3 separate regions of the Homo sapiens genome follow, and regions 2 and 3 are each linked to region 1. The links are contacts of gene promoters, found by promoter capture Hi-C in blood cells and fetal thymus (Javierre and others, 2016). All regions are on one chromosome and are shown on one strand. Each heading gives the region's core, a stretch centred on a gene start or on the middle of the fragment in contact. The rest is flanking DNA. Distances are from core to core; before and after follow the strand shown. Region 1 holds the start of NFE2L3 (NFE2 like bZIP transcription factor 3). Region 2 has its middle 69 kb from the start of LINC03007. Region 3 has its middle 55 kb from the start of MIR148A.

Region 1 (3,508 bases), core at 513-3,012:
TCAACTGTGTGTAAGATTCTGGAGGGCACCGCCTTGAAGAAGGCACCGCCTCTACTCTCAATAGTTTTAGAGCTCCCTATATAAACCTTGAAGTAATTTACATCTAAGTATTTTGGCAATTGAGTACATTATTTCTCTTGTTTCTTAGTGTCTCACAAATTTTTATCTCATCTCCCTAGTAAAACCATAAGCTTACGGAAGGAAAGAACTCCGTTTCATATCCTTCATGCCTCCAGCACAGCCTCAGGCAGTTAGTAGGTTCTCAGTAAAAAGCTGAAGGCAGCATTTACTAAGCTGAGACTCTAAATCCGCTGTTCAAAGACTAAATGCTGTGAACGGGGTCTTGATAACCTGGCAATCACCTTTCTTCATCCTCTTTGCCACCCCAACCCATCTTCCAAGGCTTAACACAGAGGAAGCAACTTTCCTCTGCTCCCCTGTTTCTGCTCCCCTGGTCCCCATTCTTTTCTCTTCTTACTACACTAGCCCAGGAGAGAGATGAGAAAGCCAGGTGGAGGGAGGGGCCTTTTAAAACAAGTCTTGCTCAACTTTTTACACAACTGCCCATTCTCAGTTGGGCATCCCCTCCTGTCCCCTTTTCTTCCAAGGAAGGGAGCTAAGGTTAGTAAAACCTACCCTTGCAAGGCCCAGTGCTGGGTACTGTGCATGGACAAAGGTGAACCAAACAGGTTCCTTGTCCTCAAGAATTTACAATGGGCAAATCAGACCGATTCTCATCTACAACACAGAGTTGAATGGGCCAACTGTTACAATGTTGGCAAACGGAGAAATCACGGTGCAACAGATGGGGGAGAGATTAATGCCAACTGGTGAAAATTCAGAGGATGTAGCTTTGGAGCTAAGCCTTGAGGGTGAGTAACACAAACAATGGGTAGCAGGGAGCACTTCCTACCCATGCAGTGCTGTGGTCGGTGGTTTACATGCATTATCTCATTTGGGGCTCACAAAAGGTCTGCTGGGGAGGTGCTATTATTAGTCTCATTTTACAGTGAGAAAACTGAGGCACAGAGAAAAGGAGAGATTTGTCCAAGGTCGCCCCTCAAGTGGAGGGGGGACTTGAACTCACTCAGGGTAACTGTAGAGCTGGTGCTGTCAACCCTCAAGGAAACAACGGATAAGGAGCAAAGGATACCGAGAGGAGGTCTAGCACTATGCAGAGCACGCCCAGAGAAGAGAGAGGGGTCTGTGAGGCTGGGACTGGGGTGTGCGGAGTGGTGGGATGACTGATCCCAATGGCAACGGTGGAATTTATATGTGAAACTCCGAACTTTACACGAAATATTTCATCTGACCTCAACACATCCCTGTTTGACAGGCTCTATGATCCCCATTTTACAGATAGCGGAACTGAGACAGAGAGGTTACTCTTGCCCACTCTGCCCGCCAAGTGTCCTCACGTTGGGGTGGAAGCCCGTTGCAAGCTGCCAGGCCCCTCGTAGCTGCCCAGTCACTCTCCGCCCAGTCTACACATCCTGTCCCTTCCCACCCAGCTACCCACCACCTAGCCCTCCACCCCAACTCCCGCCCTTGGCTTTCAGCAAGGATGGCCCAGCTCACGGCCACAGGGTGGCAAGGGGCCACTTGGTGCCCAGAACAACTTCTGCTCCCAGAAAGCCTTGCGTTCCCCGGACATAAAGAGGCTTTGAGCTCGGGGAGCCCCGCCCCGTGCGGCCCCTCCCACGGGCGCGGGCCCCGGGCGGCAGGGGGCGTGTTCCTGTCGGCTGCGCCCGCGGCCGGGGGCGGAGCTTGGCCACCGCGCCGGGCTGCGGGCGGCTGGGCGAACGGGCTCGGCGCTCAGGTGGCTCCTTCTTCGCTTCTCCCGATCCCCGGCGGTGCCAGGCACGGTGCCGGCTGCCGAGGGAACGCCTTTGTGCCCGGTGCTGGGAACCCGCGACGGCCGCCACGCGCCCCGGTCCATTGTTTCGCTTATCTGGGTTCCAGGCAGGTGCGGGCGGCGCGCGGGGTCCGCACGTGTCACCCCGGCGGCTGGGGCGCCGGGACCCGCGGGCGCCGGCAGGGGCGTTCCCGGGCGCGCGGCGGCGATGAAGCACCTGAAGCGGTGGTGGTCGGCCGGCGGCGGCCTCCTGCACCTCACCCTCCTGCTGAGCTTGGCGGGGCTCCGCGTAGACCTAGATCTTTACCTGCTGCTGCCGCCGCCCACCCTGCTGCAGGACGAGCTGCTGTTCCTGGGCGGCCCGGCCAGCTCCGCCTACGCGCTCAGCCCCTTCTCGGCCTCGGGAGGGTGGGGGCGCGCGGGCCACTTGCACCCCAAGGGCCGGGAGCTGGACCCTGCCGCGCCGCCCGAGGGCCAGCTGCTCCGGGAGGTGCGCGCGCTCGGGGTCCCCTTCGTCCCTCGCACCAGCGTGGATGCATGGCTGGTGCACAGCGTGGCTGCCGGGAGCGCGGACGAGGCCCACGGGCTGCTCGGCGCCGCCGCCGCCTCGTCCACCGGAGGAGCCGGCGCCAGCGTGGACGGCGGCAGCCAGGCTGTGCAGGGGGGCGGCGGGGACCCCCGAGCGGCTCGGAGTGGCCCCTTGGACGCCGGGGAAGAGGAGAAGGCACCCGCGGAACCGACGGCTCAGGTGCCGGACGCTGGCGGATGTGCGAGCGAGGTAGGTGCAGAGCGGGAAGCGAGCGAAGTGCGGCGTCTACGCCGCCGGGAGCCCCCGAGGCTTGTGTCGGATCTGAGCAGGGGCCACTCTCGCTGTGTCCTGGCACCCTTAGCCCCTGGTCTTTGCAGGTTCGCAGATGCTGCTGCTCTGATTCCGAATGAAGGGCTACTAGTGCTGTCGCTGTGGTTTTTAGGTGTTTAAGGAAGAAGTGGACGAAATCATCCGTTTGGTTATAGAGAATACCTTTCCTTGTGTGTGATGGCTGGCAAGAGTAGTTCGGGGATGGGGAGGGGAGAAGCAATGCCCACTGTCTTCGCTCAGTACCTCATGTACACTGGGGTGTCGTTCTCTGGGACCCGTGCCCGACCTGGACGATGTGAAGGAGGCCGTGACCTCTGGGAGGATGCATGTTTTTAAGAACGACTCTCCCGGCCTAACGCAAGGACCTTCGCCCTGTTTTCAGCCCAATTGCTGTTCGTTTTTGCTGCTTCCCTGGATTAAGGAGCCATGGTCAGGGTCTATTCAGAGGCCAGCCGGCAGGCGGTCCCCCTGTGACCTAACCATCCCCTGCACCTAGCAATCCTCCTTCCTGGAATTTGTGTAACCTCTTATTAGCATAACGAAAACAGGTACCTTGGCAGTCACTTAGTGACTAACAAGTTCCCTTTGGTTTATGGGTCCAAACCCTTCTCTGGCTTAACTTCTTTCTGAAACCAAGTTTACCAAGATCTGTTGCTTGAAACATCTGGTGCTCCCCATGGAACGTTTGAGTTCAGTCTAATGACACTTTAACACCAGTTTCCACAAAACCACTTTACCCAAAGTTCCTTCCAGGGGACTTTTAAAATTCTGTCTTGGCTCAAACTTTAGTGTTT
Region 2 (3,508 bases), core at 464-2,963, 290 kb before region 1:
AGGCCCCCAAACAATCCTGGTTTCTGTTTTCCTCTCTCCCTAGGCACACCCCCAAGGAAATTGCCTTTTCAGCAGGCGCCTGCGGGAAAGAACCGCAGGAGACAGATTCCCTTTAGAGATCTGCATGGGGAGGAGGGAGATATGGAAATAAAGAGGGCCAAGGTAAGAGGACGGAGAGGCCATAGAGGACTTGCATGTTTGGGTGTGAGTTTTCTGGCCAACTAGGGGGAAAATCCACAAACCTGAGGTATCTGGTGGATGCGCTGAAAAATTAGCTCTCACCTGCAGAGTTACTCAACCCTCGTGCGCTTCTGCTCTGCCGGGAAGGGCCAGTCTCCGAGGGCGGAATAAGTATGGGTATTGAAAGGCAAGTAGGAAACAGCAAAAGAAAAGAACAGATACAAATTTTCTACTCCCGACCTCCAAACCAAAATCGCACTTTCAAACGTAAAACGCAATTCCAAGAAGACTGGGATGTAGGGAGTATGCGATGCCTCTGTTCAATAGGTCACTGTCAGGAACTTCAGTTTCTGGTGTTCAGATATTTGTATTTGAAATTAAGAAAATCAACGCAGGAGGGGTTGCTGGAGGATAAAGTGGGGTGACGAGAGACCGAAGGAGGGGGAGGAGGAGAGGGGTAGAAGGAACCAAGAACCATCTGATGGCAGAACTGGGCTGAAGGAAAACAAAACCGTGAACTTCAAAGCTCAGGCCTAATCTCCCTCAGGTTAATTTCTGCTTCCTAAAAAGTTTGATCAGGGTCATAAATCACTCGGTCCACCCTTGCCGGTCCTGCCTGGTTCCCCAAGGTTCTCTCCCCGCAGCCCGCTGCAGGGGCGCAGGGTGAGTCTCCAGCCCAAGACCGTCTGAGGCTTCCCGGGGCAGGAGGGCTCCCGGGGCTGAGTGGGCGCACGGATGCGCGAGAATCCGCGTGCGGGGGAAGCGGGGAGGCGAGGGTCTAGGGAAGGTGCTGGCAGTGTTGCGGGCCAGACTGTGGAGAGATCCCGTGCAGATGCAGTTTCCATTCCGTCCGGCCTCAAAAAAAAAAAAAAAACCTTCAAGTGTGTCTGGCGTGCTGTTTGAAGAAGGTTACAGCGTGTTTAGAGATTTGCAAAGCTCTGCCGAGCAGTAAAGATTAGAAAGGCCTGCCTGAGATTTGTCAAATGACTTCCGGTAGCAGAGCCCCCAGTAAACAGGGAGGGCCCGGCAGCCTCAGATCTTGGCTCGGTCGGGGCCTGTAACTCCAGGCTGCACGGCGCGGAATTGGTACGGCCGCACCAGGCGCGCTGCGAGGAGGATGGGCCTGGCCGGGGACCCGTGGAGGATCCGCCTCCAGTCCCGAGGAGGTCCCCGTTTTGTGGCTGTAGTGATGTGGCGTAAAAGTCAAGTCGTGGACTTTTCTATTGGCCTTTCCGTGCAGGAAGCCCTAGATGTAGACCAAGCACTAATTTGGTGAATTTGTAGACCAACTTGACTGAAAGGCTCGGGGAAATGTCACCTAGATGAGTCTGACCCTCCCTAAATGAAAGCCATCTTGGAGGAGGCCAGGGAGTGAAATGGCTGGGGAAGGCCCGGCAGGTCTTCATCATAAGAGTCCACGTTTCTCAGCAGTAACGATAATATTTTAAAACAAAGCAAAACAACATTGTCAAAAAATCTAGGAGACAGTGATCACTGCGGTCAGGGGCGCTTAGTGGGCCGCAGCTCATAGGAATGCTGGGGTTTCCCAGATTCTTCCCAGACGGGCATCGCTTTCCTCTAGGAATGACAGTTTCCGCCTTGGCTCGCCTCAGAGGTGCGCATCAGAGCCAGCTCAGGAAGCCACTACCTGTCACAAAACCGACCACACCATTCTGGTTTACACGGAGCATATAGCTTGGGGTTACCCAGCTAAAATAAATAACTGAAGGGAAATTGTTGGTCAAGAAAAACAAAAGGAAAAATATATAATAAAAGGGGTATCTATTGTTGGACGTGAGACGGGTCCCTCTACACACGGGAAGACGAGGCAGAGGAGATGTTGTTAATGCCCCTGGGTATTAGATACAAAGAAGCACAAAAAAAGAAAAAGAGAAAGGAAAAGAAAAAGGAAGGAAGGAAGGAAAGAAGGAAGGAAGGGAGGAAGGAAGGGAGGAAGGAAGGTAGGTCAAGCCTTCTAGAATTTGTTACCCTAGATGAATAATTACTTAGACTCACACACGCAGATGTTTTTTCTGTGAGAAAGAGATTAATATGGTCTGTCCGTAATGTGACATACACACACAGGGGTTGTATTTCCATGTTTTAAAACACAAAACAACTAAAGTTGATCAGTGAGGGACATGTTTTTAACGGTTTAAATGTTTTATGATGGACCAGTAAAAGCAGAGTTAAATTTCAAGACATAATTGACTGGAGATTTGATTATTTCCCCCCATTTCTGAGGGGGAAATAATCCCTTTCCCAAAATAAAGTTATACCATTGATAAAAATAGCGCAGAGGACCGTGAGAGTTAAATAAAGCAGAAAAAAAAAAGACTATGTGTTGCATTGAGGCAAAAATAACGAAATTCAAAGGCAAATTAAAATAAAGCAATGAGGATTTATCTGAGGAACCGCCACGGGCAGAGGAGCAACATCTGTCCCAGATGTCAGACTTCCCTGCAACTTGATCCATGCGTTTCCACTTTGGTTTCTGAACCGAAGGAGGAGTGCCGGCAAGGGAGCGCCCGCAGTCCTGCGGTACAGGGCTGGCGCAGCCTCTGAGTGCGTGTGTGAACTCTGCCAGGAAGCTGTGAGAGCCAGCCCAGGATTCAGTGACCCTGTTTCCCAACCCACAAGGACAAGTACATGGTTTTCTCTCTTATCAATTCCAGCCCCGCGCAACCAAGTGAAAGCAAATGCACTGGACCGCTTCGGAATTAAAATGAATTGCTAAAACCACGGACCGCTCTGTCCGGGGCCCAGACCTGTCTCAACTCGTGGTATTTACATTCCTAGAGCCCGTGCGGAGGAACACGTCGAGGCACGGGTGGCCGCAGCACCCGGCCTCCAGGCCTAGAGTGAAAAATTTTTTAAGATCTGGTTCTCTCCCCGCCGCCTCTGTGGAGGGACTTGGGGGCATTCATCAGTCTGCAATGTTTATTCATTGTTGTAGTACCGAGCTTTCCAAACGAATAGGAAACTTTTACATCCCTTCCTTACACAGATATTTATTATCTGTAGGAATATTTAAGGGGCTGTACTGGGCCGTTCACCTTTGACAGGGGCCGTCACCTCACACTCCAGTGTAATGGACCACACTGCGGCTGCATTTAATTTATTGGGGTGAGAAGTTGCTGCGGGAGGTTTCCAAAGGGGGTCTTTGTCACGAAGAGAGAGGCTCTGGTCCAACCCCGTAGGTGCTTAGAAGATTATATTTTGGCCTCGGAATAACACAACCGAACACAACTCAAAATATGAAAGACATTTCCTTAAGGTGTGGGTTCTGATACCGGAGTTCACAGATATTTAGGAGTCTATGGAGTGG
Region 3 (3,508 bases), core at 634-3,133, 260 kb before region 1:
ACTTTGACAATTCCAGGCAAAAGACACCAGAGGGCACTACAGGACCACGTTTTGTAATTTCAGGCGCCATTTTACCCTTGGATTTGAACAATAATTTCTTAAAAAACTGTTAACCTTCTGAGATCCGTATGTGGATTTATTTATTGCTTTCAATATCTTATCGCCACTAAGCTTAACTAGCTAGGCTTGGAAGGTTATTTTAAAGGACAATGCCCTAAAAAGGCAGACACAATTGGGCTTCCTCTTTATTTTACCTTCCTATAGAATGTCGGCATGTGTATGAGCGTGTATGAGCGTGTGTGTGTGTGTGTGTGTGTGTGTGTGTGTGTGTGTGTGTGTTTAGCAAACATTTATGATTGAAGAAACCATTCAGGGAATCCAAAAACTAAAATGCAGGATTCCACTGCCTCCCCTCCACCCACCCCGCAAAAAAAAAAAAAAAAAAGTGACGTTTCAGGCCAAAAAATTGTTTTCGTTGTTATTACTTCTGTAACTGTCTTCAATCACCTATTAATTTAACCAGCAAATATTTATTGAAGCCCCTAATGTGCCAGTCCCTGGGCACACCATGATACCTGAGCCACATCTCACCCTGCAGGGTCTCACCCATGATGAGAAGGCAGTTCTCTTTACTCCTGTCAGCCAGATTTAGTCTTAGAGCATCAATATCCATAAGTGAAAAGTGACACTTCAGCTTAGATTATTTCTCTTTTCACTGCCCTTCAGAAAAATTTTTTTTTTTTTCAGAAGAAAATAGGATTTTAAAATCACTGCTTTCTAGATGTGACCATCTCAGCCTGAGCAAGAAGGATCAAAACTCTCTTGCTGGAACTGCCTTCTCAGTGACTGAATTTTTATGAATCAAATAAAATGGTTGCTTGTGGGTTTGGGGAATGCTTTTTTTCCTTCCAAAGTCCCATATTGATTAGAATGAACTACATCGAAATTTAACAAGTGACAGAAGAAAGTGCCACCACTCTTGGCGTCTAATGAAGCTGTTGGGCAGTGCTGCCATCCAGAGTGGGGGAAATGGGACACAGGAAGTCTGTTTCCTCCTCCCCCAACAATACTCCCAGCCCCATTGGTTTGTACAAACAAACATGTGAGACCACGTGGTAACATAGACAAGTTACATTCCTTACCTCAGGTAATACCCACAAGATAGCCCCATTTACCAGCTGAGCAAACTGAGGCTAAAGGTTACTTCTTTGCCCAAGGTCACACTGCCAATATCCAAACCCAAGTCTGTCCACCTCCAAAGATCATGTGCCTTCTGCTACCCAGTGTAAATAACCCAAAAGAACTCAAAGACTGTTTTCTTTGAAGATAGGTGAGGCAGACACTGCTGTGTGCTTGCCCCGAGCCATCCTATCTGCTTCCTGTGCACACAGCTGGACTACATTTCCCAGCTCCCCTTGGGGGAAGGTTGGCCCTGAGAGTGGCGTCTAGCTAGTGGAATGTGAGTGGCAGTGAGGCCTGCCCACCTCCTGCACAGTCCTTCATTCTCTCTCTCTACCTGTCACAGCCAGATGCAGAGTACTCAGCAGCAAACATTAAGGCCCTTAGGGATGGTGGGGCCACAGAATGAAAGGTGCCTGGGTCCCTGAATCACTGCATGGAAGCTGTCCAAGAAACGCTTTCAGTGGTCCAAGAGCAAGAAATAACTTGTTTTGTGTTAAGCCACTGTGACACGGGGTTGCTTGTTAAACAGTTAGCCTTTGATACATAATACACAAGGAAAGAAAATGGCTTCTGTGAAGGTGTCCATTTGCCCACCAGGGGACTTGCCTAGTTCTGTGGTGGTGAATTTGTTCACAATTTCCCTGGGCGTCAGGAAAAGAAGACATTGAGCTAAGTGATCTCTAAGGTCTTTCCCCGACCTGAGAAAAGCCTGTGGTTCTGTGGTTCCCCTCTCTCACCCGCCGGATCCCGTCTCCCACCACTCATATCTGCAGGGGCCAGCTAAGTTACCTGGACCAGGAGGGACTTAGCCCAAACTCCTACCCACCCAGGAGTCTTCCTTCCCACATAACACCTTCCCTGTACTCTGCTGGGCAGCTATACACAGATATGCCCCCTCGGCAGTGGCAGCAATATGTAAGATGCCCCGGCAGGAGGACGGGGGGCTTCACATGGCCTTGTGCCACCTGTCCCAACTTTCCCTGCCCCCTGTGTAGCCTGTGTGGGAAGATGAGCACCTTCCTCCAAGAAAAAGGCTGGGTATAGACCAAGACCTGGAAAACTGCTGGGTATCCGAAGAGTGAATATGAGGAATTCTGCTCTTTGAAAGCACTGCTTCTTCGACTGATGTCACTAACATCCATGAAATATCATCCTTAAGCTATTTTAAGTCTACCTCCAGTGACTCATGGGATCTCCTTTTCTGTCACTGAACGTGATGTGCTCAAAATGAAGATAATGTTAATATAGGGAAAAGCAGAACTGAGAGTTTTAATGACACAGACTCCTGGCCAGATCAGGAAAGGAGGGTGTAGTTCGCGGCATTTGTGATTCCGGCTGGGTCTCCGGTGCGGAAATGAAACTCGCCCCCTGCTGGCCCGCCCCGGCGCTTTCAGAGGGAAGGGGAGCCAGGACGCCCGCGGGGATGGCTGCCCAGCTGCGAGTCACACACGAGCGTCGCCCACGCCCGGCGCCCCCGCACTGCCCATGATAGGGACCTACTGAATTGGATACTAGTGGTGTTTCTGGAAAAATCAGGGAGGATTGAGACCTGGGTTTTCGAGTGACAAATTGGTGATGCAGATGAAAAATGCAGGACCCAGTTGCATATGGTGGCAGTCTTTGGCTGCCTGGAGAGAAAGAGAGAGAGAGACCGCGCGCTCACTATCAATATGATTAACTATTATAGTGCGCAGTGTTTGGGGCTATCCATTCCTTTTCCTCCTTCTTCTATCACAGATTCCTCCCTCTCTGATTTCAGAAGGAGGAGTTAGGGAGGGTCGGGTAAGTGCCTGACCTAGGCCACTCAGCATCCCCCTTCCTCCACCAGAGTCCTTGGCCAACTAAAAACCATTCCTGGGAATCTTCTGCGGAACCCTGCCCCTCTACCCTCCAGCCTGCCAAGCCTTTTTTCTGTCCCCTGCAAACTAAAGAATCCTGACTACCAAAGCTATTGATGGTTCCCACAATATGTATTGTTTGAATCCACTAGCACCTGACACAACCCAAATTATGAATTACCATAATTACCAAGGGTAAAACCCAAGGTTAATGATGAAACAAATTAGTGCACAGTTAAAAAATATAAAAGTGTTCTATAACTACTACAAAATGAGATAAGGTTAATTAAAGTAATTTTCAAAATATTAACAGAACCATAGTTCCAGCAAGTATAGGAACATTATCAGCGCATTTGCATCATTAAAGGATTTAAACAATTTATAGAGCCATAGATAGAACACTTACATTTGTGAAGGTCAAAAAAAGGATAAACTATTTAGCTTTATTTTTGTAAGCCTATTTCGTTTTCTACATACTGTGGCATTAT

The links. The method cuts DNA at HindIII sites, captures the fragments that hold promoters and counts their contacts. A CHiCAGO score of 5 or more calls a contact.
Region 2: a contact is called between a fragment that was not itself captured here and the fragment with the promoter of NFE2L3 in region 1, in 2 of 17 cell types (fetal thymus and non-activated CD4 T cells). The highest score is 7.9, in fetal thymus.
Region 3: a fragment that was not itself captured here is called in contact with the fragment with the promoter of NFE2L3 in region 1 in 16 of 17 cell types (megakaryocytes, fetal thymus, M2 macrophages and 13 more); the score reaches 16.3 in megakaryocytes.

What each region holds. Positions count from the first base shown.
Region 1 is chr7:26,150,436-26,153,943 of GRCh38, forward strand. NFE2L3 (NFE2 like bZIP transcription factor 3) reads left to right here and starts at 1,763. Exons shown (of 4, transcript NM_004289.7): 1 at 1,763-2,633. The coding sequence starts at 2,064. RefSeq lists silencers at 1,552-1,931, 1,952-2,021, 2,032-2,101, 2,212-2,461, 2,472-2,541 and enhancers at 1,723-2,517, 2,518-3,311, 2,662-2,851. The HindIII fragment of the contact is 3,470 bases long and covers 190-3,508 here.
Region 2 is chr7:25,857,799-25,861,306 of GRCh38, forward strand. No RefSeq gene overlaps it. Among named protein-coding and RNA genes, the nearest start is that of LINC03007, 69 kb to the left of the region's middle. The HindIII fragment of the contact is 9,868 bases long and covers 1-3,508 here.
Region 3 is chr7:25,892,983-25,896,490 of GRCh38, forward strand. No RefSeq gene overlaps it. Among named protein-coding and RNA genes, the nearest start is that of MIR148A, 55 kb to the right of the region's middle. RefSeq lists enhancers at 5-84, 2,278-2,367. The HindIII fragment of the contact is 3,429 bases long and covers 170-3,508 here.